Linked DNA regions of Homo sapiens: regions 2, 3 and 4 are each linked to region 1. The links are contacts of gene promoters, found by promoter capture Hi-C in blood cells and fetal thymus (Javierre and others, 2016). All regions are on one chromosome and are shown on one strand. Each heading gives the region's core, a stretch centred on a gene start or on the middle of the fragment in contact. The rest is flanking DNA. Distances are from core to core; before and after follow the strand shown.

What was found. Contacts are between HindIII fragments. The CHiCAGO score rates a contact against its expected background, and 5 or more counts as called.
Region 2: a contact is called between a fragment that was not itself captured here and the fragment with the promoter of PRDM13 in region 1, in 4 of 17 cell types (monocytes, activated CD4 T cells, total B cells and 1 more). The highest score is 8.0, in monocytes.
Region 3: a fragment that was not itself captured here is called in contact with the fragment with the promoter of PRDM13 in region 1 in 1 of 17 cell types (erythroblasts); the score reaches 5.1 in erythroblasts.
Region 4: a fragment that was not itself captured here is called in contact with the fragment with the promoter of PRDM13 in region 1 in 1 of 17 cell types (total B cells); the score reaches 5.6 in total B cells.

The regions. Positions count from the first base shown.
Region 1 is chr6:99,605,583-99,611,759 of GRCh38, forward strand. PRDM13 (PR/SET domain 13) reads left to right here and starts at 1,251. Exons shown (of 4, transcript NM_021620.4): 1 at 1,251-1,596; 2 at 3,159-3,290; 3 at 3,605-3,725. The coding sequence starts at 1,453. The HindIII fragment of the contact is 6,161 bases long and covers 1-2,642 here.
Region 2 is chr6:99,508,215-99,514,976 of GRCh38, forward strand. It overlaps USP45 (ubiquitin specific peptidase 45), which reads right to left. Exons shown (of 18, transcript NM_001346022.3): 2 at 1,907-2,016; 3 at 396-568. The coding sequence starts at 2,006. Among named protein-coding and RNA genes, the nearest start is that of USP45, 3.8 kb to the right of the region's middle. RefSeq lists an enhancer at 6,217-6,762. The HindIII fragment of the contact is 2,311 bases long and covers 4,100-6,410 here.
Region 3 is chr6:99,719,548-99,726,449 of GRCh38, forward strand. No RefSeq gene overlaps it. Among named protein-coding and RNA genes, the nearest start is that of PRDM13, 120 kb to the left of the region's middle. The HindIII fragment of the contact is 794 bases long and covers 4,034-4,827 here.
Region 4 is chr6:99,481,530-99,487,869 of GRCh38, forward strand. It overlaps USP45 (ubiquitin specific peptidase 45), which reads right to left. Exons shown (of 18, transcript NM_001346022.3): 8 at 1,224-1,354. Among named protein-coding and RNA genes, the nearest start is that of USP45, 31 kb to the right of the region's middle. RefSeq lists a silencer at 3,656-3,795. The HindIII fragment of the contact is 2,606 bases long and covers 1,848-4,453 here.

The DNA.
Region 1 (6,177 bases), core at 1-2,500:
ACCACTCAGGCCTCTCTTGGAAGAACTGCATCGGGCTCCGGTGCTGGCTGCATAGGATTTGGGGAGCTGTGCTCAGAACTAGCAGCACGCGGCAGGTGCCGGCAGAAATCACAAATATCTGATGAACTTGATTACTTGGCTACTATTTATGAAAATAAATGTTCTCACGCCAATTGGAGGCTTCCCTAAAAGAAAACGGGTAGCTCTCCGGTTTAACTCTGAAGTACAACGTCTTGTTAGTTCACAAAGTAGGTGTAAGAAAGAGTTGTCCCAAACGCCCACCTCGCCCCTCTTCTCTACAACCTTTAACAGATTGCGGTGATTTTCGTTTTTGTTTACTGTTTTTTTTTTAATAGAAAAGTCCAGGTTGCTGGTTTTAGGGAAGTTAGTCCAAGGACATCTTCTAGGGGACGTGATCAATAACCCACTGGTAGAACTTCTTCCTCTTCAACCCTGGGCTGCGGACCGGGGCGCAGGATCCCCATTCGAAACTGTTGGTTCTGGGGCTGTTTCCCATTCTCCAGAGAAAGTGCAGGCCCGGGGTGTGCCCGAGAAAAGTGATGAGCAGTTGACCTCCCCTTCTCAACTTGGTCTGGAGGCTTCATCATATTTTCGGACGAAATGGGACAGAAGTGAGAATTAAAGCGGTTCTGAATAGACGACTGGCCTGAACCCAATCCCCTGAAATGGTAATATGGTTGTTATTTAAAAAGTGTAGGTATTTTCTGGTGTTTTCCCATCAAGTACCTGCCTAATTTCTGTATGGCACACGCCAGAAATCAATAGTAGTTAACAAGTCCTCCAAACAGTCTCCATCTCTTTGTTTAATCTCCTTTACAATAAAGCCAAGGGGAGAGAATTAAAAATCTTTGAAGTAGATCAAGGCTCAAAGGAATCAGCCAAGTAGACTTAAAGTAGTCACTTATTTCCCAAAACTGGTTTGTCGGGGAACAATAAAAGGAAGTAAAATTTATGGAGAAATTATACAGTGGATTTGTCACTTAAAATATCGTAACTGTCTGGAGGACAATACCCCATGCTGAGGATTAATGGTCCCGCCGGACCTTTGATTCACCAGTGCCTTTTCTTCGCCCTTGACAAATTGGATTTTTAGGAATGGGAAGGTCGCCTGGACCATTGTGTGCTAGCCATTCAGCGGCCTCGATTATGCAGGGGGCTGAGGGAACCACTCCATGTGACCCTCTCGGGTGGGACTCTGCAGCTGCTTCGCAGCGCAACTCTCTCACCAAACTCCGCGCCCTTGCGCTAGCGGTGCCAAAAGGCTCCCGCCCCGATTGAAAAGGCGCAGTGCATGCCCGCCCGCGTCACTCCGCGGGCGGAGGACGCACGTCGGGGCGCGGCTCTCTGGCTAGCGCGCAGCTCCAGCTCTGTCACTCGCGCCCTTCCAAGGACCTGGAGCACCCGAGCGCCTGCCTGGTGGCGGCGGCAACAATGCACGGAGCCGCCAGAGCGCCAGCCACCAGCGTGAGTGCCGACTGCTGCATCCCGGCCGGCTTGCGCCTCGGACCGGTGCCTGGTACCTTCAAGCTGGGCAAGTACCTGTCAGACCGCAGGGAGCCCGGGCCTAAGAAAAAGGTATTGACCATTCAGACCTCTGCCCACTGCCATTCGCCTCTCAGTGCCCTGACCCGGGAAAGGGGTACGAGAGAAAGTGGAGGAAGGGAGTGATTGAGTCGTTACCTGCTAATTCTGCCGGGTGGAAGGGGACTCCTATTATTCTGAGCAAGTAGCCTCTTTAACTGTGAGAGCTGGACGGGGTCGGGCTGAGAGGAGAGGATGTGGCCGAGAGGCGACAGCCCTGGGTGGGGTGCACTGAGCGCTGTAGGTGCCGGGACCATTCGCAGCTTGTGTTTTCCCCTGCGCTCTCGGGTCTCCTCAGTCAGAAGCCAGAAGCCCACCCCCGCACGCTGTCCGCAGCTCTCTCTGCAAAAGCACCCTCTTTCTGGGGGCTCAGGGCATCGAGACCCTTTCTTCCCTTCTGCCCTTCAATATGTTAATTTGAGGCCTAATTTCGCCTTAAAGTAATTTTTTTTCCTGAAAAAAAAAATCTTTGGGAGGCTCTCAGTTCCTAGAACCTCCTCAGATATTTTTTTTTCCCTTGCCGATGTCGGCTTGTGGGTATGCGGCATATGGAGAGAGGATGAGCAAGGTACTGGCTCTGACGCGGGCTCCAAGGGCGAGGCGCGCCCATTCGCGCGGGGCACAGGGTCAGAGCGTCTGCAGCGGGGCTCTGAGAGTCCAGAGGCCCAACCGGGAGGCGCCAGGGCCAAACCACTAGCTTTGACTCCCACACTCCACACACCGTCGCGACCCCTGACCAGAGAGACTTATAGCACTCGCCCGCTTTGGGGGCGTCCCAGGAGCCAAAGGTCGGCAAACAGCGACCGGGAAATGAAGGCAGAAGTCTGGGGTAGAAGAAAGGACTTTGGCTTCCTTGGCTTTAGCTTGCCTTGCTTGGAGCTTTCTAGTAAAAAGCTCCGGTGTCCAGCCAGCGGGACTTGCACCTCGCTCCTCCTGCAATCACGCCCCCCACTACAGTCTAAAGCGGGGTTTGGTGCCCACCGCGCATTCCTCTTTAAACGCGTTTTAATTGCTTTTAAATGGCCTGCCAGCTGCGGGCAAGCTTTTCCCCGCTTGGGCTTTGTTCCGAGACTTTAGCTGCAGGGCTCACAGGCAACTAGGTGCGATGCACACAGAATACAGGAGGCATGAGATAATTTTTTTGTTTGTTTGTCGGGGGTACGCTCTGGGCCCTGGGACTGACCTAGAAATGTCTCTACCGTGGTGTTACGGCTGCTCTCAGAACTGCAAATGGGAGAGCTGGGGTAGGGGACAACTTGGTACAAGATGTGCCTAAGCACTCAGGGAGGATGCTCTCAACACCCCTCTCCCCTCCCCGTGTCGTCAAGGTGGGGCGCAGGGAAGTGGGAGTACTGTTAGCATAGGTAGACTTTCCTCTTTCTCCCTCCCCGAAGCAAGGTCCTAAGGAATTCTCCTCCTCCCAGTAGCCCATAGTGGTCTGGCCAAACCAAAAACAACCACTTTCCTGTGTTGGGTTGGGGTGGAGGATAAACTTTCTGTTTGGGTTGTGGGCCTGGCCAAGGTGCGGGGGAGAACGACCACTGCTTGTGTTGCAGGTGCGCATGGTGAGAGGGGAGCTGGTGGACGAGTCGGGGGGCTCCCCTCTGGAGTGGATAGGGTTAATCCGGGCAGCCAGAAACTCCCAGGAACAGACTCTGGAAGCTATTGCAGACTTACCCGGAGGACAGGTACTGCGGGCTTCTCTCCACACCCCCCCACTCCCCACCGCCAATTCAGTCTACCTAACCGTCCCTGCGGTGGCCAAAAATATTAAGAGCAAAGTACTTTAGCTAGACGTCTCATTTAAACGTCTCGACAACCCTTTAAGGTAGTTACTATTGTTTTTCCGTTTGAAGGATGACGGAAGTGAGGTTCAGAGAGCTCCAGTAGCTTCTCCAGGGTCACACAGCATCAGAATCCGGATTTGAACCTTTCTTCTCAGTTGCTTTTTGACCGATTACCCAGGAAATGACATTGAACTGTTCTATTCCTTGCGTCCCAGATCTTCTACCGAGCATTGCGAGACGTCCAGCCAGGGGAGGAGCTGACAGTGTGGTATTCTAACTCCTTGGCTCAGTGGTTCGACATCCCCACCACAGCGACTCCGACTCACGACGAGAAAGGTACCCATTCCAAAAGCGTGGATGGGCAAAAGTCCAGCCCTCCTCCTCCTGTCTTGAAGCGAGTCCCTAGACATAGCTCGATCTATGTAAAATGGAATTCACATTCCCTGTATTTCAAGGCAAAGAGGAGAGAGGTCGCCACTACCTCCTTAAAATCAACCATAAACGATAACAGTGATAGTAGCAATCTGGCTCACAATGGCAGGGGAAAAAGTAGGCTCTATGAACTTAATGGGGCCATCCTTTTTCTGTTGCATATTCAAACAGACCATTATTTACTCAATTAAAATAAAAAAAATTAGGCGCGGTAGCTCACACCTGTAATCCCAGCACTTTGGGAGGCCGAGGTAGGAGGATCACTTGAGGCTAGGAGTTCGAGACCAGCCTGGGCAACATAGTGAGACCTCTGTCTCTACAACAAAAAAATAATTAGCCAGGTGCGGCGGTACATGCCTGTAGTCTTAGCTACTCAGGATGCTGAGGCAAGAGGATCACTTGAGCCCAGGAGGTCAAGGTTCCAGTGAGCCGTAATGTTACCACTGCATGCCAGCCTGGGTGACAAGTGAGACCCTGTCTCAAAATAAATAAATAAAAATAAAAAATAAAAAAGGAGCCTTAAGTTGTTGTTACAGTAATTACATCATGAGTTCCACAGAGTATAACTCAAACCTGGAATGCTTTTACAAAGTCCATGGACATTTCTTCTCCACTGGCTTTCCAGGAGAGCAGTGCATTTCTACAGCATTTTAGAAGTATTACGGTACTTACAGCTGGTCAGTTGGCAGGTACTGAGACCCTTCCATTTAAGTGGCATTTATTCATTTCCCCTTGCCTACTTAAGTTGAATCTGGGATGTATCCCAGTTTCTTCTCAGATTTATTTGATCCCTTCAAAGCCAAGAGCGGATTTATGCAAATTAAGGTGCAGTAACTAAACAGAAAAACATTTTTAAACCTACCCTTGAACACTGAAGAACACTTCCTGTGGAAAGAAGTCTAGGAGGTGCTAGAATAGTTGAGGTTTTGGAGACTTCCTTTTCACACACAAAGCTTCCATGGCTTTTTTTCTTTGACAATTGTCTGTAATTTCTCCTAAAGACACATTTAACATCAAAATAATGAATGCTGTGAAATATTCTAACATGCTGTCTTCCTGAATTGCCTGCTCAATCTCATCCCTTTAGAAATAGGTTTAGAGAAATCAATACAAGTATGTGAATTAGGAAACACTTCATGAATAACACAGAATGAAGTTTATTCAAAACAATGAATCACTTTAAAGTATCATCGTCCTCTGTAAGTTAATTCTGTTTATTTTGTAGGTATAGTATTCAAATTATCCTAAAATAGTTTGTTCCTTGCATCACATTATATTACATTCTCTTGTCAACTTCTTCCAGTAAAAAGAGAAGTATAATAAAAGCCACATAGTGGAGAACTCTCAAATCTGCCACTATAGAATTTGGCGGGCCACTAACCTTTAGAAGCCAGCCATTTCTACAGAGAACACCCTTTCTTAGGTAGTCCCAAATAGTACAAAAGCAACTGGAATAGCGGTCCTTGTGTTTTCCTTTCAGCCAATTGAGCTTATAAACATCATATGGTAACAGATGTCAAAATAAACATTTTTTTTTTCTGGAGGTGAGAAGGCATGGGTGATTTTGAACCCTGACTTCCCCAGCTTGGAGAAGTTTGAACTCTTGACCACCTTAGAGTTACATGAAGAGGAGGCAGTCACTTGTTAAATGTATTTGATACTCTTGGCATGATTTGGATCTCAGAGTCTGGAGAATATGTCAGTTAGGATAACTGAAAAAAAGTATATATTAAACGTATGCTGCTTAAAGCTTGGAAAGAGGAAGAAATAAATAGGGATGGCTGCTATCCTCCTAATACTAGCTAACTTCAGTGGGTTTCAATTTCATAGTAAGATGGAGGAAAATACTGCCCCCTCATTTTAAGAAAAAAGCTTATGTGGCTTTGCATTGAGCTGAGTCATTCTGCGGCAGACTCTGAAAACTCCCTCTTTCAAAAGGGGTGATGAGAGAGAGAAAGGCTCTGAAGTTAGAAGGAAGTTATTTAAGACAACATACCCACCAAGAGAACCCAGGAGGTCTATTCTCTCTTTTTTTCACGATTCATTTTACATGAATGTTCAGTACAAGGTAACAGAATATTGAAATGGTTTTATCTAAGACTTCTATAAACGATTAGGGTAGGGTGTCATAGGCAAATACTCTTCTCCCATTTTTCTTTCTGCTCTCCTTGGACTCAGTTGGAATGCAGTGCTTATCACTTGAGTTTTCACAGGTCTTATGGGGTAGGGGTGGGAGCTACTTGTGTTATGCAAACCCAGAAGTTAATATACATAAAGGGAAGAAGATCTGGAATTCTTCCCTATTGTTATTTCTGTAGTAATATTTCAGAAGTTTGAGCTGCTCATATATGCAGAG
Region 2 (6,762 bases), core at 4,005-6,504, 93 kb before region 1:
ATTACAGATATCAATAACTTTTAAACTTTAAGATTTTAAATTACTTTGCAAAAGCAGCAGAATAATCTGTTTTGAGAGAGAAAAAAATTAATCTGAAAGGTAGATCCATTTCCTAAGTAAATACAAAAGGTAAAGACTGGTCCAGATATGGGAACTACTGCAAATAGGTTGAATTACCTCTGCAAGTATTTATAAACCACACCTGATTACTTTCTGAACATAGCATACCTTTTACTTTACCTTAACAATCATTTTTAAGTTCATTCCTGGAAAATTTCTATCTAAATTGGAATAAATTTATCTTAACTCCTATGCATGACCAACAGTCCAACTCACAATAAGCATTTAAGGAAAACATTTCAGACAAACTCACATATAAATAATACTTTTCTTACCTGGAAGCCACACTTGAGGCACAACCAAATATCAGAAGTAAGTACTAGCTGCCCATCATAGAATCTTCTTTCTTTTAAACATTCTGAGCAAACTGACCACAGATTCTCAGCTATTGCTCTCTTTACATGATTCACGCTGATAGCATGACTTACATGTTGGCAAGTTAAACCTACTGAATAAGATAAAACAAAATCTCAACATTTTCTTTGCTACACCAAAGTGCTACCATTACTGAGCAAACCTCAAAAGTATTAAATGCTGTTAACTAAAAAGCACAGAGATTGAACACACAAAATAACTCAAAAGATATATGCTATATAATTCCATTTATATAATGTTCATGAAATAACATAATTATAGAATGAGAAGAGATTCATGGTTGTAGGGAGCAATGGACGCAAGGCAGAGGGTGTTGCTATAAATGGACAGCACATAGAGTGGTGATGACACAGTCAAGTATCTTGATTGGTGGTGGTTATACAAAGCTATACATGTACTAAAATGGGATGATGTTTCGATAGCCAGTTTGCTGCACTGAAGGATGTCTGAATTATCTCTTTAAATATCATTAGGACCTTATCTGATGTCCCTAATTTATTAGAGTTTAAATTTTTGAACTAATTTTAGATTCACAGGAAGGTATAAAGAAATATACAAGGAGGTCTCATTCACCCTTCACTGAGCCTCCCCTGATGTTAATGTTTTGCACTGCTATAGTAAAATATCAAAACCAGGAAGCTGACGTTGGTACAATCCTTAGAACTTATTCGGATTTCAGAAGACATAGGCACTCATATGTGAGTGTGTTTGTGTATAGCTGTATGCAACTATGCATACCTAAAATGGAAAAAATATATTAAAAATATCCCTTTAAATGGAGAGAACTAGCAAGAAAGTGAGGAAAATCCTCAGAGGCCCAAATCAAAAGCATGAGGCTAAAGAGAAAACCAAGCCCTGAGGCCAGCAGCTCCCAAAAGCCATCTGCCAAGCTCTGGTGGCTTGGTGACATGGTTTTAATAGGCCATGAGAAAGAGACCAAAAAAAAAAAAAAAGCCAATCTAAGTTACTTCATGTTATAAACTAAACAAAATCCTAATAAAAATGCCAACAGGATTTTTTGGAACTAGAAAAGGTGATTCTAATATTTATGCAGAAAACAGTAAAAATAAAGAGTAACAGATTTCTTAATTAAAAACATATACAGTCTTCCCTCAGATACTTGAGGCAGGGAGGTGGGGTGGGGTAGTTGGTTCTAGGACCTCCCCACATATACCCAAATCTGTGCATACTCAAGTCCCGCAGTGGGCCCCGTGGAATCTGCATTTAGAAGTCAGCCTGCCAAGTATGCAGTTTTCACGCATCCCAAGAATAGTGTATTTTCCATCTAGGTTTGGTGGAAAAAAATTTGTGTACAAGTTGATCCTCAGCGTTCAAACCCATGTTGTTGAAGGGTCAACTGCATTGTTATTTCTTCTCAACACTATTTGGGATGCCATATATCACAATTTACCAGCAATATCATCTGAAGAGTCTTCATCATGAGGTACAGTAGGCCTTTTACTTCTTTTGGCTTTCTCAGGTAAAGCTTTAGTTGGATCTTTCACCCGCATCTGTTATTTACTGAAGGGATTGAGGGAAAAAAATTCATACATTTTAGTCTTCAAAATTAAAATTTTATATTTTATTTAATGTGTATTAAAACTGAAATGACTTCAATTTCAACTGGTCCGGGAAATCAACAGAGGAAGAAGAGGGGAACATCACTTGAAATGAAATAAATCTTTGTTAAATCAGTATACACATGGTATATTCCATTGGCTTTTGCCAACTATACCATTATGGACTAAATGTTTGTGTCCCCACTCCAAATTGATATGTTGAACTCTAATCCCCAAAGTGATGATACTTGGAGGTGAAGCCTTTGAGAGGTAATTAGGTCATGTAGGTGGAGCCCTCATGAATGAGACTGGCCTCTTATAATAAGAGGCTAGAAAGCTACCTTTGTATCCACATGAGGATATACGAGAAGATGGCCATCTATAAACCAGGAAGAAGGCCCTCACCAGATACTAGATTTGCCAGCATCTTGACCCTGTACTTCCCAGCTCCCAGTATTGTGAGAAATAAGTCTGTGTTGTTTAAACCACCCAGTCTATAATAATTTGCTATACCAGGCTGAACCAAGACACAACCCCTAAATATATGATGTCCAGGTGAATGACCAAAACTAAAGTTTTCATCAACGGAGTAAGTATTGCTTCTGGATAATGAGTTCTCTTTACCCTTTCCTCCCTTCTGCTAGCAAGGAAATAGTAGGAGCTGGATGAGCCATACTGGATCAAAAATGGATAGCTGTAAGCCAAGCATAGTAAAGCCACTCTATACCTGTGTTGTACAACTAGCACTGGAATATTAAGAGAAAATTAAATTTCTATCTTTTTAAGCTACTACATTTTTGGGGGTTTTTCACTCTAGCTTTTTATCATGAAAAATTTTAAACATCTACAAAAGTTAAAAGAACAGTATAATGAACACTCATATACTAATTAGATTCCACATTTATATTATTATTACTATTATTATTATTATTATTATTTTGAGATGGATCTCGGCTCACTGCAACCTCCACGTCCTGGGTTCAAGCAATTCTCCTGCCTCAGCCTCCCAAGTAGCTGGGATTACAGGCGTGTGCCACCAGGCTTGGCTAATTTTTTTTGCATTTTTAGTAGAGATAGGGTTTCACTGTGTTAGTCAGAATGGTCTCGATCTCCTGACCTCGTGATCCGCCCACCTCAGTCTCCCAAAGTGCTGGGATTACAGGCGTGAGCCACCGTGCCCGGCTATTATTATTTTTTGAGACAAAGTCTCACTCTGATGGCCCAGGCTGGAGTGCAGTGGCCTGATTTCAGCTCACTGCAGCCTCAACCTCCCCAGGCTCAGGTGATACGCCCACCTCAGCCTCCCAAGTAGCTAGGACTACAGGTGCACACCACAATGCCCAGATAATTTTTTTGTATTTCTTAGTAGAGATGGGATTTCCCCATGTTGCCCAGGCTGGTCTCGAACTCCTGGGCTCAAGCAATCCACATGCCTTGGCTTCCCAAACTGCTGGGATTACAGGTATGAGCCATGGTGCCCCACCAATTCCACACCTATTAACAATTAGCTATGTTTGTTTTTATCTAAATATCAATATGTGTGTATAGAGAGACACATATATGTATGTGAGTGTGTGTATATATATATATATATATATATATATATATATATATATATACACATAGTTGAACTATTTGAAAGTTGTAGAGATCTTGACAGTTCATCCCTAAATACTTCAGCATGTATCTCTTAAAAATAAGCACATTCTCCTATATAACAATGTAATCATATCTAAGAAAATTAATAATTTTCTAATATCATCTCATATTCCATCATATTCTAATTTCCTTAGTTGACCCTAAATTGTCTTCTATAGCTGGTTTTTTGAAAAAGATTCAATCAAGGTTTGCACTTGATATTGGTTATGTCTCTTTAGTATCTTTTAATCTATTAACAGAACAGTTCTTCCAACCTGTTACTTGCCTAAGACTTTAGCTTTTTAAAGAGATCAGGCCAGTGCATGAGTCACCTTGAGGGTCTTGTTAAAATGAAAGTTCTGATGCAACAAGTCTGGCACAAGACCTGAGATTCTACCTACCTAAAAAGCTTCTAACTGAAGCCACTGCTGGGGGCCCATAGAATACTCTTTCGACAGCAAAGTTATATAATGTCTCACACTGAATTTGTCTCTTTCTTCATAGTGTTATTTACCTCTATCCCTTATATTTATTAAAAATTCAGTTAATTATCAAAGATTTTAGATACAAGCTAAGCATTTTTTAAAACTACTATATTTTGGAGTCTCTGTTAGAGTAGCTTGGCCTACCTTTTACTCTCCTGCCTGGTGGCTAAGCAACATCGCAATTTTCATGGTTGCTGACTTACTTCTCAATGATCAAGGTAATGAATCTTTCAATTCAGTACTAAATTCCAAATCTTGATTTATTCATTCCATAATTCACAATAAGGGAGCTTTCAAGTTTACCATTAAGTCCAACGGTCATCACTACTGAACTAAGTTGCAATAAATTAAGGGCTTCCGGGTTAGGAACATGTAAAAAGCCTCTGAGTTCCTTGAGCACTTCATCTCTACCTTCTCCCTCCAAACTTCCTCATCTACTCTCCCCTACAGTTCCACCTTATAAAATCACTAATTTAAGTATCCCCTTCTCTGACAGCAACTTCCCAGTTCTTCCAACTTGCCTGATCAGCCACTCATATTTTCCTATAGTGTCCAGGCTGACAAGAGGCTGCATCTCAACAAGTCCTTCCATGACCCTTACAGCAGGGCAGGGAGAAGTGGAAATGGCAAATGGAGAGCTGCTTCCTAAAGCAAGTCACATGGCACATTTAACTTCAAGCAGACATGGAGAGGGGTTGCCCATGTACAAAGAGTGCAGCATTACATGTACCCAAAAATAGGTGAACCGGAATACTTGTGCAGAGCCTTAAGGACTACATCACCTCTCTCGCAGAACCCAATCCTAGATGAACCCAATTAACCATTTTCTCCATGTCGGGAGAAAGTCTCTTAAGAAAGCAGACTAGGTCCATTATTATTCACTTCACCTTCTGGTCAACTTACATACTATCCACAGAGCCATTTCAAATCTTCTTCACTTTCCTCAAACCTCTAACCCCTCCAACTCCCAACTAACTTACCAAAAACTGATCTAGTCTTTTATAAGGGAAAAGAGACATAAGCAGACGGCAAATTTGATCTTTCTAACCCCAAATTTGCAAACCTACCTCCATCAATTTAAATTTGATGTCCTGAAAAGAGATAGGTATAACTAATAAAGTACAGGGAAAATGGCCTATGAGAAACTGATTATATTTTCTCGCTGTGGTACAGATAAGCTCTTGATAAAGATGAGCATTAACACAGATAATGCTAGCAAAATAATAAACAAAACCAGGCATTTGACCTACATACTGTAAGCAACCTGTGCCTTTTTTCAAAAACACTGACTCAAAATTAACTTGGTAATGTAGAGGCAATTTCTGATGATTTTTCTGCCATATGTAATGTCTAAACAGACAGAATCATTTGGTACAGTAACCCAGAATTCGGCAATTATTTATCTGTAGTTTTCCAATTTCCATTTGAGGCAAAAGGGCAAAATTAAAAGTCCAATTATTAGAGCTTCCAATACTTTTTATCATCAAAATTGTGTCTGGGCACTGGAGACTGGGAAGGATGGGAGTGGGGTGAGGAATGAGAAATTGCTTAATGGACACAATGTACATTATTCAGGTGATGGTTACACTAAAAGCCCAGTACCACTAGGAAATATATCCTCGTAAAAAAACGGCACTTATATCCCTTACCTTTATACAAATTTACAAAACTGTGGCTGAGGATCTCCGTGATCTCCCCCACATTTAGAGCTTTGATAGGATGCACGGGACTCAACATATAGTTGAATTCATGGCTGACATTTATTACACAATGCAGTATGGATATAAAGGCTCATCATAATAGAAAAAGACACAAGCGGAGTCTGGAGGAATCACGTGTAGGCTCCTTATGCGGTCTCCCTCCCAAGAGGGGTCAAACAAAACACATCCTTCCTCCATCAGTGAAAATGCAGCAGTTTCCGCGCAGGGAAGCCCATTAAAGACTTGGTGTCCCGGATTTTTACAGAAGCTGGTAATTTCGGCATAAAACATACTGTTCAGCACAAACCCAAAAATCTAAGTTCCCAGATGCCAAACAAGCACCAACATTGCAAGCAGTCCTTTCTAAGGATAGCAGTCTTAAGGCCTGCTATGTTAACTCTTTTTAGCACAAATATGTTCTGGCCATTTTTCTCATGCGGTTTTCCAAACAATAAACTTTACAGTTTTCAAGTCACCATCACTTAACACTTGTCTTTTCTCTAAAGTAGGATGTGCAACTAAGTTGTTTAGAAAGCTTTGTTTTTAAACAGGCTATGCAAAAAGCCCATATCCTTAAGAAAAAAAAATCCTTTTTTCCTACTCTTGGGCAATTATTTATGGGGGTTGGAAAGAGAAGAAAAGGTCACTATCTCCTTTTATATACCAAGCTCAAAAAGATGAGCAGCACTTATGGTTTTGCTGTGTATCACGCTCAGTTCTAAGCACTTCACAAATATTAACCCACGCAACCCTCACAACCACCTTAGGAGATAAGTTGCTATTATTTTCCGCATTTTACACTTGAAACTGAGAAAGAGAAGTGAAGTGACTTGCAGAGGTCCCAAAGCCAGTAAGCGGTGGATGGAGATGCGGACCCAAGCAGTC
Region 3 (6,902 bases), core at 3,181-5,680, 120 kb after region 1:
CATTATTTTAAGCTGATAACAGCTTAACACTGTTTGCACAAGCAAGCAAATAAACAAACAAGCAAAATGAAAACCAGTAAAAACTCTACACCTTAGCTTCATCCCCTGCTTTTTAACTTTTTTTGTTTCCACTTTTTTTTGATCCTAAAGATCACTTTGTTTTATTTCACTATACTAATTTCTTAAAAAAAAACTTTTATTTTAGATTCAGGGATACATGTGCATGTTTATTATATAAACTTGTGTCATGGGGGTTTAATGTACAGATGATTTTCTCACCTAGGTACTAAGCCTAGTACCCAATAGTTATTTTTTTCTGATCCTCTCCCTCCTCCCACCCTCCACCCACAAGTAGGCCCTAGTGTCTTTGTTCCTTTGTGTCTAAGTGTACTCAGTATTCAGCTCCCACTTATAAGTGAGAACATGCAGTATTTGGTTTTCTGTTCCTGTGTTAGTTTGCTAAGGACAATGGCCTCCAGCCCCATCCAGGTTCCTGCAAAAAACATGACCTCATTCTTTTTTATAGCTACATAGTATTCTGTAGTGTATATGTACAACATTTTCTTTATCCAATCTGTCATGATGAGCATTTAGGTTGGTTCCAAGTCTTTGCTATTGTGAATAGTGCTGCAGTGAACACTCATGTGTGTATGTTTTTATGGTAGAATGATTTATATTCCTTCAGGTATATACCCAGTAATTGATTGCTCAGTCGAATGATAGTTCTGTTTTTAGCTCTTTGAGGAATTGCCTCACAGCTTTCCACAATGGTTGAACTAATTTACACTCCCACCAACAAGTGTTTCCTTTTCTCTACCACCTTGCCAGCACCTGTTATTTTTCAACTTTTTAATAGTAGCCATTCTGAGTGGTGTGAGAAGGTATCACATTGTAGTTTTAATTTGCATTTCTCTAATGATCAGTGATATTGAGCCCTTTTGCACATGCTCGTTAGCCACATGTATGTCTTCTTTTGAAAAGTATCTGTTCATGTTCTTTGCCCACTTTTTAAAGAGGTTGTTTGTTTTTTTCTTGTAAACTTGTTGAAGTTCCTTAAAGATGATGGACATTAGATTTTTGTCAGATGCATAGTTTGCAAATCTTTTCCCATTCTGTAAGTTGTCTGTTTACTCTGTTGATAGTTTCTTTTGCTGTGCAGAAACTGTTTAGTTTAATTAGATTCCGTTTGTCAATTTTTGTTTTTGTTGCAATTGCATTTGGTGTCTTTATCGTGAAGTGTTTGCCAATTCTTATGTCCAGAATGGTATTTCCTAGGTTGTCTTCCAGGGCTTTTATCATTTGGGTTTTACATTTAAGTGTTTAATCTATCTTGAGTTGATTTTTGTATATAGTGTAAGGAAGGGTTCTGGTTTCAATTTTCTGCATATGGCTAGCCAATTATCCCAGCACCATTTATTAAACAGTGAGTCCTTTTCACATTGCTTGTTTTTGTCAGCTTTGTCGAAGATCAGATGCTTGTAGGTGTGTGGTGTTATTTCTGGGATCTCCATTCTTTTTGTACTATCTAGGTCTTGAAAAGTTGTTGTAGTTGTTATTTTTGGTTAATTGTTTAGCCTTTCAACCTAGGATAAGAGTAGTTTACACACTATAGGTACAGTGTTATAATGTTCTGTGTTTTTCTGTGTACTTAGTATTACCAGTGAGTTTTGTACCTTCAGGTGACTACTTATTGCTCATTAACATCATTTTCTTTCTGATTAAAGTACTTTCTTTAGCATTTCTTGCAGGACTGGTCTGGTGTTGATGAAATCTCTCAGCTTTTGTTTGTCTGGAAAAGTTTTTATTTCTCCTTCATGTTTGAAGAATATTTTTGCTAAGTATGTTGTTCTAGGGTGTTATGGTTTGGCCCTGTGTCCCCACCCACATCTCATCTCAAATTGTAATCCCCATGTGTTGAGGGAGGGACCTGGTAGAAGGTGATTTGTTCATGGGGGTGGTTTCTCCCATGCTGTTCTCATGATAGTGAATGAGTTCTCATGAGATCTGATGGTTTTATAAGTGTTTGGAAGTTCTTCCTTTACTCTTCTTTCCCCTGCTGCCTTGTGAATAAAATGCTTGCTTCCCCTTTGCCTCCTGCCATGACTATAAGTTTCCTGAGGTTTCCCCCACCATGTGGAACTGTGAGTCAATTAAACCTCTTTCCTTTAAAAATCAGATATTTCTCAGATATTTCTTTATAGCAGCATGCGAACAGACTAATACAATTAATTGGTACCAAGAGTTTGGGGTACTACTATAAAGATACCTGAAAATGTGGAAGTGACTTTGGAAATGAGTAACAGGTAGAGGTTGGAACAGTTTGCATGGCTCAGAAGAAGACAGAAAGATGTGGGAAAGTTTCGAACTTCCTAGAGACTTGTTGAATGGTTTTGACCAAAATGCTGATAGTGATATGGACAATGAAGTCCAGGATGAGGTGGTCTCAGATGGAGATGAGGAACATATGTTTAAAAGGGATGCAGAGCATAAGATTTGGAAAATTTGCAGCCTGACAATGCAATAGAAAAGGAAAACACATTTTCTGGGTAGAAGTTCAAGCTGGCTGCAGAAATTTGCATGAGTAATGAGGAGATGAATGTTAATCCCCAAGACATAGGGAAAATGTTTCCAGGGCATGTCAGAGATCTTGGCAGCAGCCCCTCCCATCAGAGGCCCAGAGGCCTAGGAGGAAAAAATGGTTTTGTGGGCTGAGCCCAGGACCCTGCTCCTGTGTGTATCCTTGGGATTTGGTTCCCTGTGTCCCAGCCACTCCAGCTCCAGCCATGGCTAAAAGGGGCCAAGGTACAGCTTGGGCCATTGCTTTAGAGGATGCAAGCCCAAAGCCTTGGTGGCTTCCACATGGTGTTGGGCCTGCAGGTGCACAGAAGTCAAGTATTGAGGTCTGGGAATCTCCACTTAGATTTCAGAGGATGTATGGAAATGCCTGGATGTCTAGGCAGAAGTCTGTTGCAGGGGCAGAGCCCTCATGGAGAACCTCTTCTAGGGCAGTGCAGAAGGGAAGTCTGGGGTTGAAGCCCCCACACAGAGTCTCCACTGGGGCACTGCCTAGTGAAGCTGTGAGGCCACCACCCTCCAGATGCTAAAATGGTAGACCCACCAACAATTTGCACTGTACATCTGGAAAAACTGCAAGCACTCAACATCAGCCCATGAAGGAGCTGCCCAAGGCTGTGGGAGCCCACCCCTTGCATCAGCATGCCCTGGATATGAGACATGGATTCAAAGAATATCATTTTGGAGCTTTAAGATTTAATGACTGCCCCCTGGATTTTGGACTTGCATGGGGGCCTGTGCCCCTTTGCAAGAAATTGTTTTGGACAATTTCTCCCATTTGGAATGGGAGCACTTATCCAATGCCTGTACCTCCATTGTGTCTTGGAGATAACTAACTTGCTTTTGATTTTACAGACTCCTAGGTGGAAGGGAATTGCCTTGTCTCAGATGAGACTTTGGACTTGGACTTCTGGGTTAATGCTGGAATGAGTTTACATTTTGGGGGACTGTTAGGAAGGCATGACTGTGTTTTGAGATATGAGGACACAAAATTTGTGAGGGACCAGGGATGGAATTATATGGTTTGGCTCTGTGTTCCCACCCAAATCTCATCTCAAAGTGTAATCCGCAGGTATTGAGGGAGGGAACTGGTGGAAGGTAACTGAATCATGGGAGTGGTAGCCTCCATGTTTTTCTTATGATAGTGAATAAGTTCCCATGTGATATGATAGCTTGATAAGTGTTTGGAAGTTCCTACTTTGCTTTTCTCTCTCCTGCTGCCTTGTGAAGAAAGTGCTTGCTTCCCCTTCACCTCCTGCCATGATTGTAAGTTTCCTGACGCCTCCCCTGCCATGTGCAACTGTGAGGCAATTAAACTTCTTTCTTTTATAAATTACCCAGTCTTGGGTATTTCTTAACAGCAGCATGAAAATGGACTAATACATAGGATTAAGGTTTTGTTCCTTCAATATTTTAAATGTTTCATTCCACTCTCTCCTGGCCTGTTAGGTTTCTGAAAAGCTTGCTGCTATATGTATTGGAGGTCCATTATATGTTATTTGTCTCTTTTCTCTTGCTGCTTTTAGGATCCTTTATCCTTGATCTTTTGGAGTTTGGTTATTAAATGCCTTAATGTAGTTTTCTTTGGATTAAATCTGCTTGGTGTTCTATAACTTTCTTGTATTTAGATATTGATATCTTTCTCTAGGTTGGGGAAATTCTCTCTTACTATCCCTTTAAATAAACTTTCTACCCCTATCTCTTTCTCTACCTCCTCTTTAATGCTAGTAACTCTTAGATTTGCCATTTTCAGACTATTTTCTGAGTCCTGTAGACATGATTCATTGTTTTTTATTCTTTTTTATTTTATCTCCTCTGGCTGTGTATTTTCAACCTATCTTCAAGTTCACTAATTCTTTCTTCTGCTTGATCAGTTCTGCTATTAAAAGACTCTGATGCATTATTCAATATGCCAATTGCGTTTTTCAGCTCAGAATTTCTGGCTAATTCTTTTTGATTATTTTAATCTTTTAGTTAAATTTATCTGATAGACTTCTGAATTCCTTCTCTGTGTCCTCTTAAATTTCTGTGTTTCCTCAAAACAGCTATTTTGAGTTCTCTTTCTGAAAGGCTACATATCTCTGTCTCTCCAGGATTGGTCCCTGGTAACTTATTTAGTTCATCTAGTGAGGTCATACTTTTCTGGATTGTTTTAATACTTGTAGATGTTATTCAGTGTCTGGGCATTGAGGAGTTAGATATTTATTGTAGTCTTCATAGTCTGGGCTTCTTTGTACTCATCCTTCTTGGGAAAGCTTTCCAGATATTCAGAATAACTTGGCTGTTGTGTAAGCTGTATCTGCATTAGGGAGCACCCAGAACCCAGTAACACTGTGGTTCTTGCAGACTCGTAGAGGTACTGCCTTGATGGTCTTGGGCAAGATCTGACAAAATTCTCTGGATTACCAGGCAGAAACTTTTTATTTTCCGTTACTATCTCTCATACAAACAGAATCTGTCTCTGTTCTGAGCCACTTGAACCTGGGGGTGTAGTGACACAAGCATATCTGTGGCCACCACCTATGACTGCACTGGGTCTGACCTGAAGCCACTGCAGCACTGGGTCTTGCCCAAGGCCTGCTGTAACTACTCCTTTGCTACTGCCTATGTTCACTCAAGCTGTGGGGCTCTAAAATCATCAGGTAGTAAAGCCAGCCAGGCCTGTGTCCTTTCCTCCAGGGTAGTGAGTTCCCCAAGACCCCAGGCAAGTCTAGAAGTGTCATCCTGGAGCCAGGGACTACAGTCAAAAACCTTAGAAGCCTACCTAGTGTTCTATTGTACTACAATTGAGCTGGTACTCAAACCAGAAGATGTAATCCTTCCCACCCTTTCCTCCCCTTTCCAAAGGCAGAGGAGCCTCACTGTATGGGCACCACCACCAAAGGCCACAGGGAGTACCAGCAGACTGCTGCCAATGTTCCCTTAAGGACCGAGGGCTGTTAGGTCAGCTTGTGGTGAATACTCCCTGGCCTGGTACTCACATTTTGGGGCAGGGGGCTCCCCTCTGGCCCATGGCAGGTCCAGAAATGCTGTTCAAGAGCGAAATCCTAGAATCTGGGATGCCAAGAGACTGCTTGGTGCTCTAACTCCCATGGCTGGGCTGATACCTAAGATCCAAGACAAAGTCCCCCTTACTTTTCCCTCTGCTTTTCTGAAGCAAAAGGAGTTTTGGCCCGTGGACACTCAGCTCATAATATGCTGTGTCTCACCTGAAGCCAGCAAGTCTCAGAGGCTCACCTCAGCCCCTCAATGTAGTACCTGGGTATTGCTGCTGTTTATTTAGGGTCTGAGGGCTCTTTGGTTAGCAGGTGATAAATGTTGCCAGCACTGGGTCCTTCCCTTCAAGGAGCAGATTCCCTTCTAGCCCAAGGTGTGTCTAGAAATGTCTGGGAGGTAGGGCCTGGAAATGAGGCCTCGTGACTCTGCCCCATGCCCTATTCTCCTGTGGCTGAGCTGGTATCCAAGATGTGGCCCATTCTTGCCTCTCCTTTCCTCAGGTGTGAAGGAAGAGGTATCTTTTGGAGTTAGGAGATTTGCAGCCTAGGGTTAGCGGAGGGGTGGTGCCAGCACTCCCTTAGCTGCCCCAGCTGGTGTCTCAGTAGGTCATGTGCCCCACCAGTCCACTGTCTCTGGGCCTGGTTAAGCCCTAGGATTCACCTAGGTGTTGTAGTCCTTGTGGCCTAGATTGCCTTTCAAATTTATTTAGAGCCCCAGGGCACTTTAGCCTGTGGTGGCAAGGCTTGCAGGTGGTGATGCTTGTGGGAATTCAAGTTCCAACCACTGGGATCAATGAATGCACCCTGGGTAGAGCTGGTTTAAATAGTCTCTCCTTGGGGGGGCATCAGTTGAGTTTGGTCTGGTGTTCCTTTCTGCTATAACAGGACAACACTGAGTTCAGTGTCTCACAACTGCCAGCTCTCCCTCCCCCAGCAAACAGAACTGCTCTCCACCCCACGCCACTGCTCAGGGAGGGATGGCATTGGTGATTCAAGCCTGTTTTTTTCTATCTCTTCAGTGTCTCTTTCACAAAGTTAAAACTAGGTACTGTGAGTGCTCACCTGATTTTTGTTTCTTATGAAAGTGTTTTGTTGTGTAGATAGCTGTTAGATTGGTGTCCTTGCAGTGGGGGACACAATTGGTGGAGTCTTCCATTCCACCATCTTGTTCCTAATTCTTTTTTTTAATGACTAGTATTTAGTTATAAATTAAATAATACCTGAATAAGAATGAAAACACCCAAAGTTGCATAATAGTCAAATCCTCAAGGTAGCTATTGGTTTTAGCTAAATGATAAATGATGAGGTAACTAGGACTTCAGCAACAGTATT
Region 4 (6,340 bases), core at 1,901-4,400, 120 kb before region 1:
TTTAGATTCAAGGGGTACATGTGCAGGTTTGTTATCTGGGTATATTGTGTGATGCAAAGGTCCGGAGTACGAATGATCCCGTCACTCAGGTACTAAGCATAGTACCGAATAGTTAGTTTTTCAACCCTTCCTCCCTCAATCTCTCCCACCTCTAGTAATCCCCACTCTCTACTGTTGCCATCTTTATGTCCATGAGTACCCAATGTTTAGCTTCCACTTATGAGAACATGTGGTATCTGGTTTTCTGTTCCTGCATTAATTCACTTAGAATAATGGCCTCCAGCTGCATCCATGTTGTCGCAAAGAATATGATTTCATTCTTTATTATGGCTGTGCTAAAAACTTTTTAACTCTGTGAGACACTCATGCCTCTGAGAATTTTGCAGGTTTTTTTGGTCCTCAGGCTTTGAAGAAACATCATTTGCCAACCAAATGAAACATACACTAAGCCCTCTATTTTGGACTATATTTAAAATATCATGGCATTCATTACTAGTTTTAATTAAAATGAGATTTTAAAGTCTATAGATATACAAAAACACAAGCTCATATTCAAATAATTTTCCTTCTACATATTTTAGTAATTGTGGACTGGACTAGCTTGTGAGTTCCATGAGGACAGGGTGCATTTGTGACGCAATATATGTTGTGTACCCCTGAATTGTAGCAAGTACCTCATAAAAAGCAAGCTCTCAATTTTTTATATAAATGAATACATGAATGCATTAAAGTCAAGTCAGATCCTTTATGTGTTTATTTCCAGGCACATAAGGATTTGGTTTTTAAACATACTGTAATACCTTGAGAAATTCACTTAAACTCTATTTGCCTCACAGCTCATCTTTTAAAATAAGAAAGCTAGATTAGATGTTATCTTACGGTACTTTCTAGATTTTACAACTCTATGGTTTTCTCACTTTATGGTATTACAACATAGGCATCCAAGTCAGGACAGATCTCCATTTGATTCTCAGCTTTTCACTCAGACTAGGTGAGCCATTTAATTTCTGTGTCTCCATTTCCTTATATATGAGGATAAGCTGCTTCTTCTGAGGACTGAGATATAATTTTCATAAAGCATAGAGCTGTAACAAATTTTAGTTCTCTTCATAGTCAGGGCAATAAGAGCAAAGTTACAGTAAAAACGACTATTCATGTTAAATGATGAATACATTAGTATTTTGTAACTCATAATTATTTATATTAAATGTAGATGCACCCACTTCTGACAAAGCTGATTAAAAAGAACTTTAGGAGAAAGTGGTCCTTTTTCAGTCTCCTTCATGCTGTGAAGAAACAGGAACAAGGCTGAGGTCAGTGGTCCAGGCCTTGAAAGTTCCACCACCAATGGGTCCTTTAAAAACATGATCAACTCTATGTCAGAAATGTACAATTTAAAAATAACATATTAAAAATCTGTGAGTTACACTCTGCTTAAATAACACCAACTAAATTGCCTCAATTGTATTAAGAAACTTTATTATTTCATAAATAAAATATATAAAAATGGAAAACAGAATACCTGCCTTGAAAAACACAGGTATTTTCATATCCTCTGCCCTTTGCTTAATAAAACTATTAGATCAAATGATATCACCAATCTTTAGTTGCTTGTCACTGTCCTTTAATGCACTCTCCTATAAATAAAATCACTAATCTACTTAATGTTTGTACCACTCCACGAATAATCATACATTATTTGCTAGTAAATAATGTATGATTATTTGTGTATAATGTAGGATTATACACCTTTCTTTTCCCCAAATATTTTACTAGTAAAGTAATAATGTGGAATCATGTAACAAAATCAGCATAACATCTCCCTCTTTTAAAGGGGAGAGACATAAAGCTTGACAAAAGCAGCTAACATTGGGTGAAGGATTAACCCATTTAATTCTAGAATTTTTTTCCCCTCGAAATCTGGTTTCTAAAGTACTATCCCCACCAATAACACTTTCTCCTAAAGGACAAGGAATAGAAAGCAGATCCCAAATATAAACTTGGGACATTAAAGAATGTTATCTTCCGGCCGGGCGCGGTGGCTCACGCCTGTAATCCCAGCACTTTGGGAGGCCGAGGCGGGTGGATCATGAGGTCAGGAGATCGAGACCATCCTGGCTAACAAGGTGAAACCCTGTCTCTACTAAAAATACAAAAAATTAGCCAGGCGCGGTGGCGGGCGCCTGTAGTCCCAGCTACTCGGGAGGCTGAGGCAGGAGAATGGCGTGAACCCGGGAAGTGGAGCTTGCAGTGAGCCGAGATTGCGCCACTGCAGTCCGCAGTCCGGCCTGGGCGACAGAGCGAGACTCCGTCTCAAAAAAAAAAAAAAAAAAAGAATGTTATCTTCCAAGATAACTATTGAATATATTGTCCTATTCCTATATTCATGAAATAACTGTTACATATGTATTTTATAACAACTATCCTTAAAAATCCACTATAATCACAGAAAGGACAGGCTATAATTTTCCATAGTTTTTTTTTTTTTTTTTTTTTAAAGAGACAGGGTTGCCCAGGCTGGTCTTGAACTCCTAAGGCTCAAGCAATCCTCCCGCCTCAGCCTCCCAAGTAGCTGGGATCGCAGGCATGAGCCACCACACCCAGTCAAAATTACAGAGGACTCAAGACAGACTTTTGTGTTTTTTCTTTTTTTTTTTTTAGACGAAGTCTCACTCTGTCACCCAGGCTGGAGTGCAGTGGTGCGGTCAGCTCACTGTAACTTCAAACTCTTGGACCCAAGTGATCCTCCTGCTTCCACCTCCTGAGCAGCTGGGACTACAGATGAATGCCAGCATATCCAGTTGATTTTTAAAATTTTTGTAGAGACGGGGGTAGAGGGGGGGTCTCACTTTGTTGCCCAGGCTGGTCTTAAACTCCTGGCTTCAAGTGATCCTCCCACTCCGGCCTCCCAAAGTGCTAGGGGATTACAGGAATGAGCCATGGTGCTCGGCCTTCCATAGCTTTTGAATGTCAAAAGTGCTTTTCTGGGCTGGATGCCATGACTCACATCTGTAACCTCCACACTTTGGGAGGCCAAGGTGGAAGGATCACTTGAGCCCAGAGTGGAAGGCCCGCTTGGGCAACATAGGGAGACTCCGTCTCTGCAAAAAAAATTTAAAAATTAGCCAAGTGTAGTGGCACGTGCCTGCAGTCCGAGCTACTCAGGAGGCTGAAGTGGGAGGATCCCTTAAGCCCAGGCTGCAATGAGCCATGATGGCACCACTGCACCCCAGTGTGAGTGACAGAATGAGACTGTCTCCAAAAAAAAAAAAAAAAGTGTTTTCTCTTCTGCTGTAAACTTAAAACTGCTCTAAAAAATAAAGTCTATTTTTTTTTAAAGTGTTTTCTGCCATGTTAACTGAAAGTTACCTCAAGGGTCAAAAGTAAAATCTAAGGTAATTTTAAACTTCAAGTACCAAGTTGCACTTCCCTTTTCTCAATGAAAATATTTTTTAGACAGAATAAAAAACCTTCAGAATGAGATGAGGAAATAACCTTAGTTTTAAAAAGTACATTTAGACCTGGCGCAGTGGCTCACGCCTGTAATCCTAGCATTTTGGGAGGCCGAGGCAGGTGGATCACTTGAGGTCAGGAGTTTGAGACCAGCCTGGCTAACATGGCAAAACCCTGTCTCCACTAAAAATACAAAAAAAAAAAAAAAAAAAATTAGCTGGGTGTGGTGGCACGCATCTACAGTCCCAGCTATTCAGGAAGCTGAGGCAAGAGAACTGCTTGAACCTACGAGGCAGAGGTTGCAGTGAGCCGAGATCGTGCCACTGCATTCCAGACTGGGTGACAGAGCAAGACTCCATCTCAAAAAATAAATAAAATAAAAATAAAAAATACACTTAAACTTTGAAAACAAAAGTTTGCTGAAAACGCAAGAAGGATGAATTTCACACATAATGTTGACAGAAAGAAGCCAAATGCAAAATAATGTATATAGTAAGATTCCATTTATATGCAGTATTAAAACAGGCAAAACTAATCTATCCTGTTAGAAACCAGGTTAGTGGTTACTCATGTGGGTTAGGGAAGTAGTGAATGTGGGGGGGAGTTGAAGGGGCCTTCCAGATGCTGGTAATGTTACTTGAGCAAGGTGTTAGTTACACAAGTGTGTTAGCTGTGAAAATTCATCAAGTTATACACTCATAATATACATTTTAAAGAATATTTTCATTAAATAAAAAGTTTTCCACACACACTGTTGATATGCGCATAAATATTAAATTGAATCCAGCAGCATATAAGCATATCATAACTGGGGTTTGTAACAAGAATACAGGATAGGTTTAACACTTGAAAAAGGAATCAGTGTAATTCACCACATTAACAGAATAAAGAAGAAAAACCATATGATCATCTCAATAGATGTGGGAAAAGCATTTGACAAAATTCAACATCCATTCCGATAAAACTTTCAGAAAACTAGCAATAGAAAGGAATGTCCTCAAGCTTACAAAGAACACCTCTGAAAATCGTACCTTCGTATGTAATAATGGGAGAAGGCTGAATGTTTGTTCCCCTAATTTTGGGATTAAGGCAAGGCTGACTGCTCCCATCATCTCTATTCAACATGTTACTGGAGCTCTGAGCCAGCACAATAAGGTAAAAAAATAAAAATAAAAAAATAAACGGTATATAGACAAAAGACAAAGATAAACTGGTGATTCAAAGGGCAGTAACCAACTCAAAGAACAGTGCCACAGCTCAGGTCAACTTTATGCCCTAAAAACCTAAGATATAAGATTCAAAATTACCCTGTTAGAATGATACAAACCTAAAGTTATTAACTACAGTATCTAATTGCCATATAGTAATCCTGAAACACAGCTCTGCATGTCAAATATTTAAACTCAACATCCAATCGCATTTAACAGGAAATCACATTTAACAGGTCTTTTTAAATGACTAGGCAATAACTTCCCTTTAGTAGTTTTAAGGATCTCACTACACTTTATTTAGAATAGGGCATTGGAATCTATCATTAAATTTTTAAGGGGCTGAACAAATGTTTACAGGCTGCTTTTCGACTATATATACATATATATATGGTAAACATTTACATGTAAATATATATATAAAAAGGAGGTTATTATATATATATAACAGTATGTTATATATATAATAATACTGTCTTTCAAAGATATATATATAAAACAATACTGTCTTTCAAAAGTGCCTACTGGGAAAAACAATCTAAGATTACTAAGCATGTTTAGAGGGCTAAGCATTTTTAGAACTCTTTAATTGTTTTCAAAAGTCAGATCATGAGCTATACATATACTCTGACTTACACACTTACACACACACACAAACACACACACACAGGCTGATCAATTTCTCACTAAAATTATCCTTACTAGTATCAACACCTCCCAGCCAAAGTCCATCAGAAACACACCTATCGTTGAACTAGGTGGGTTTATTACTTGTGGCAGTGAGGGAGATCACGCAGCATGGGGAACCACAGGGTGTCCTAGTAAGAGAGTGCTGTAAAGAACCTACCCAGGATTTAGGCTCTGGTTGAATAACCTGAAGGTGGGTTTCAGGAAGCAGAGGTTTACTCTAGAGTGAATGCCCTCAGAAAGCGAGGCTAATTCTATCATGGGACATCTCAATAAATCTTACATATTGTGGCAGTTGGTGGGGGAGACTAAAATGAGGATAAATCTCTAACTAGTAAAGTAGCATTCCTTCATTTCTCATTTTGGCTGAAGGAGGGTGTTTCAGATTTTCTAAATGGCAAAGTGATCTTGTTTTAGACAAAATCATGAAGTGGACTTGCTTTGTCTTATTTCATCGTAGTCTCAGAGAAACCTACTATCAGATTGTTATTCTGTGGGATTATCTGAATAACATGGCCTAACTGTTGGTGCCAGGCCAGCTTCTGAATATCAGGGGCTGCTCTTTTTTTCATCTTTCTCACTAGCTTAAAAATCTATCATCAGGCTAGGCTTCAAAAAACCTTTAGATGTGGCCGGGCGTGGTGGCTCACGCCTGTAATCCCAGCACTTTGGGAGGCCGAGGCGGGTGGATCACGAGGTCAGGAGATCAAGACCATCCTGGCTAACATGGTGAAACCCCGTCTCTACTAAAAATACAAAAAAAAAAAAAAAAAAAAAAAGTTAGCCGGGCGCCTATAGTCCCAGCTACTCAGGAGGCTGAGGTAGGAGAATGGCATAAACCCGGGAGGCGGAGCTTGCAGTGAGCTGAGATCGCGCCACTGCACTCCAGCCTGCACTCCAGCGACAGAGCGAGACCCCGTCTCAAAAAAAAAACCTTTAGATGCTCACTATTAAAATTTCATCTTTCTTTAAAGAACAAAAATGCTAAATTT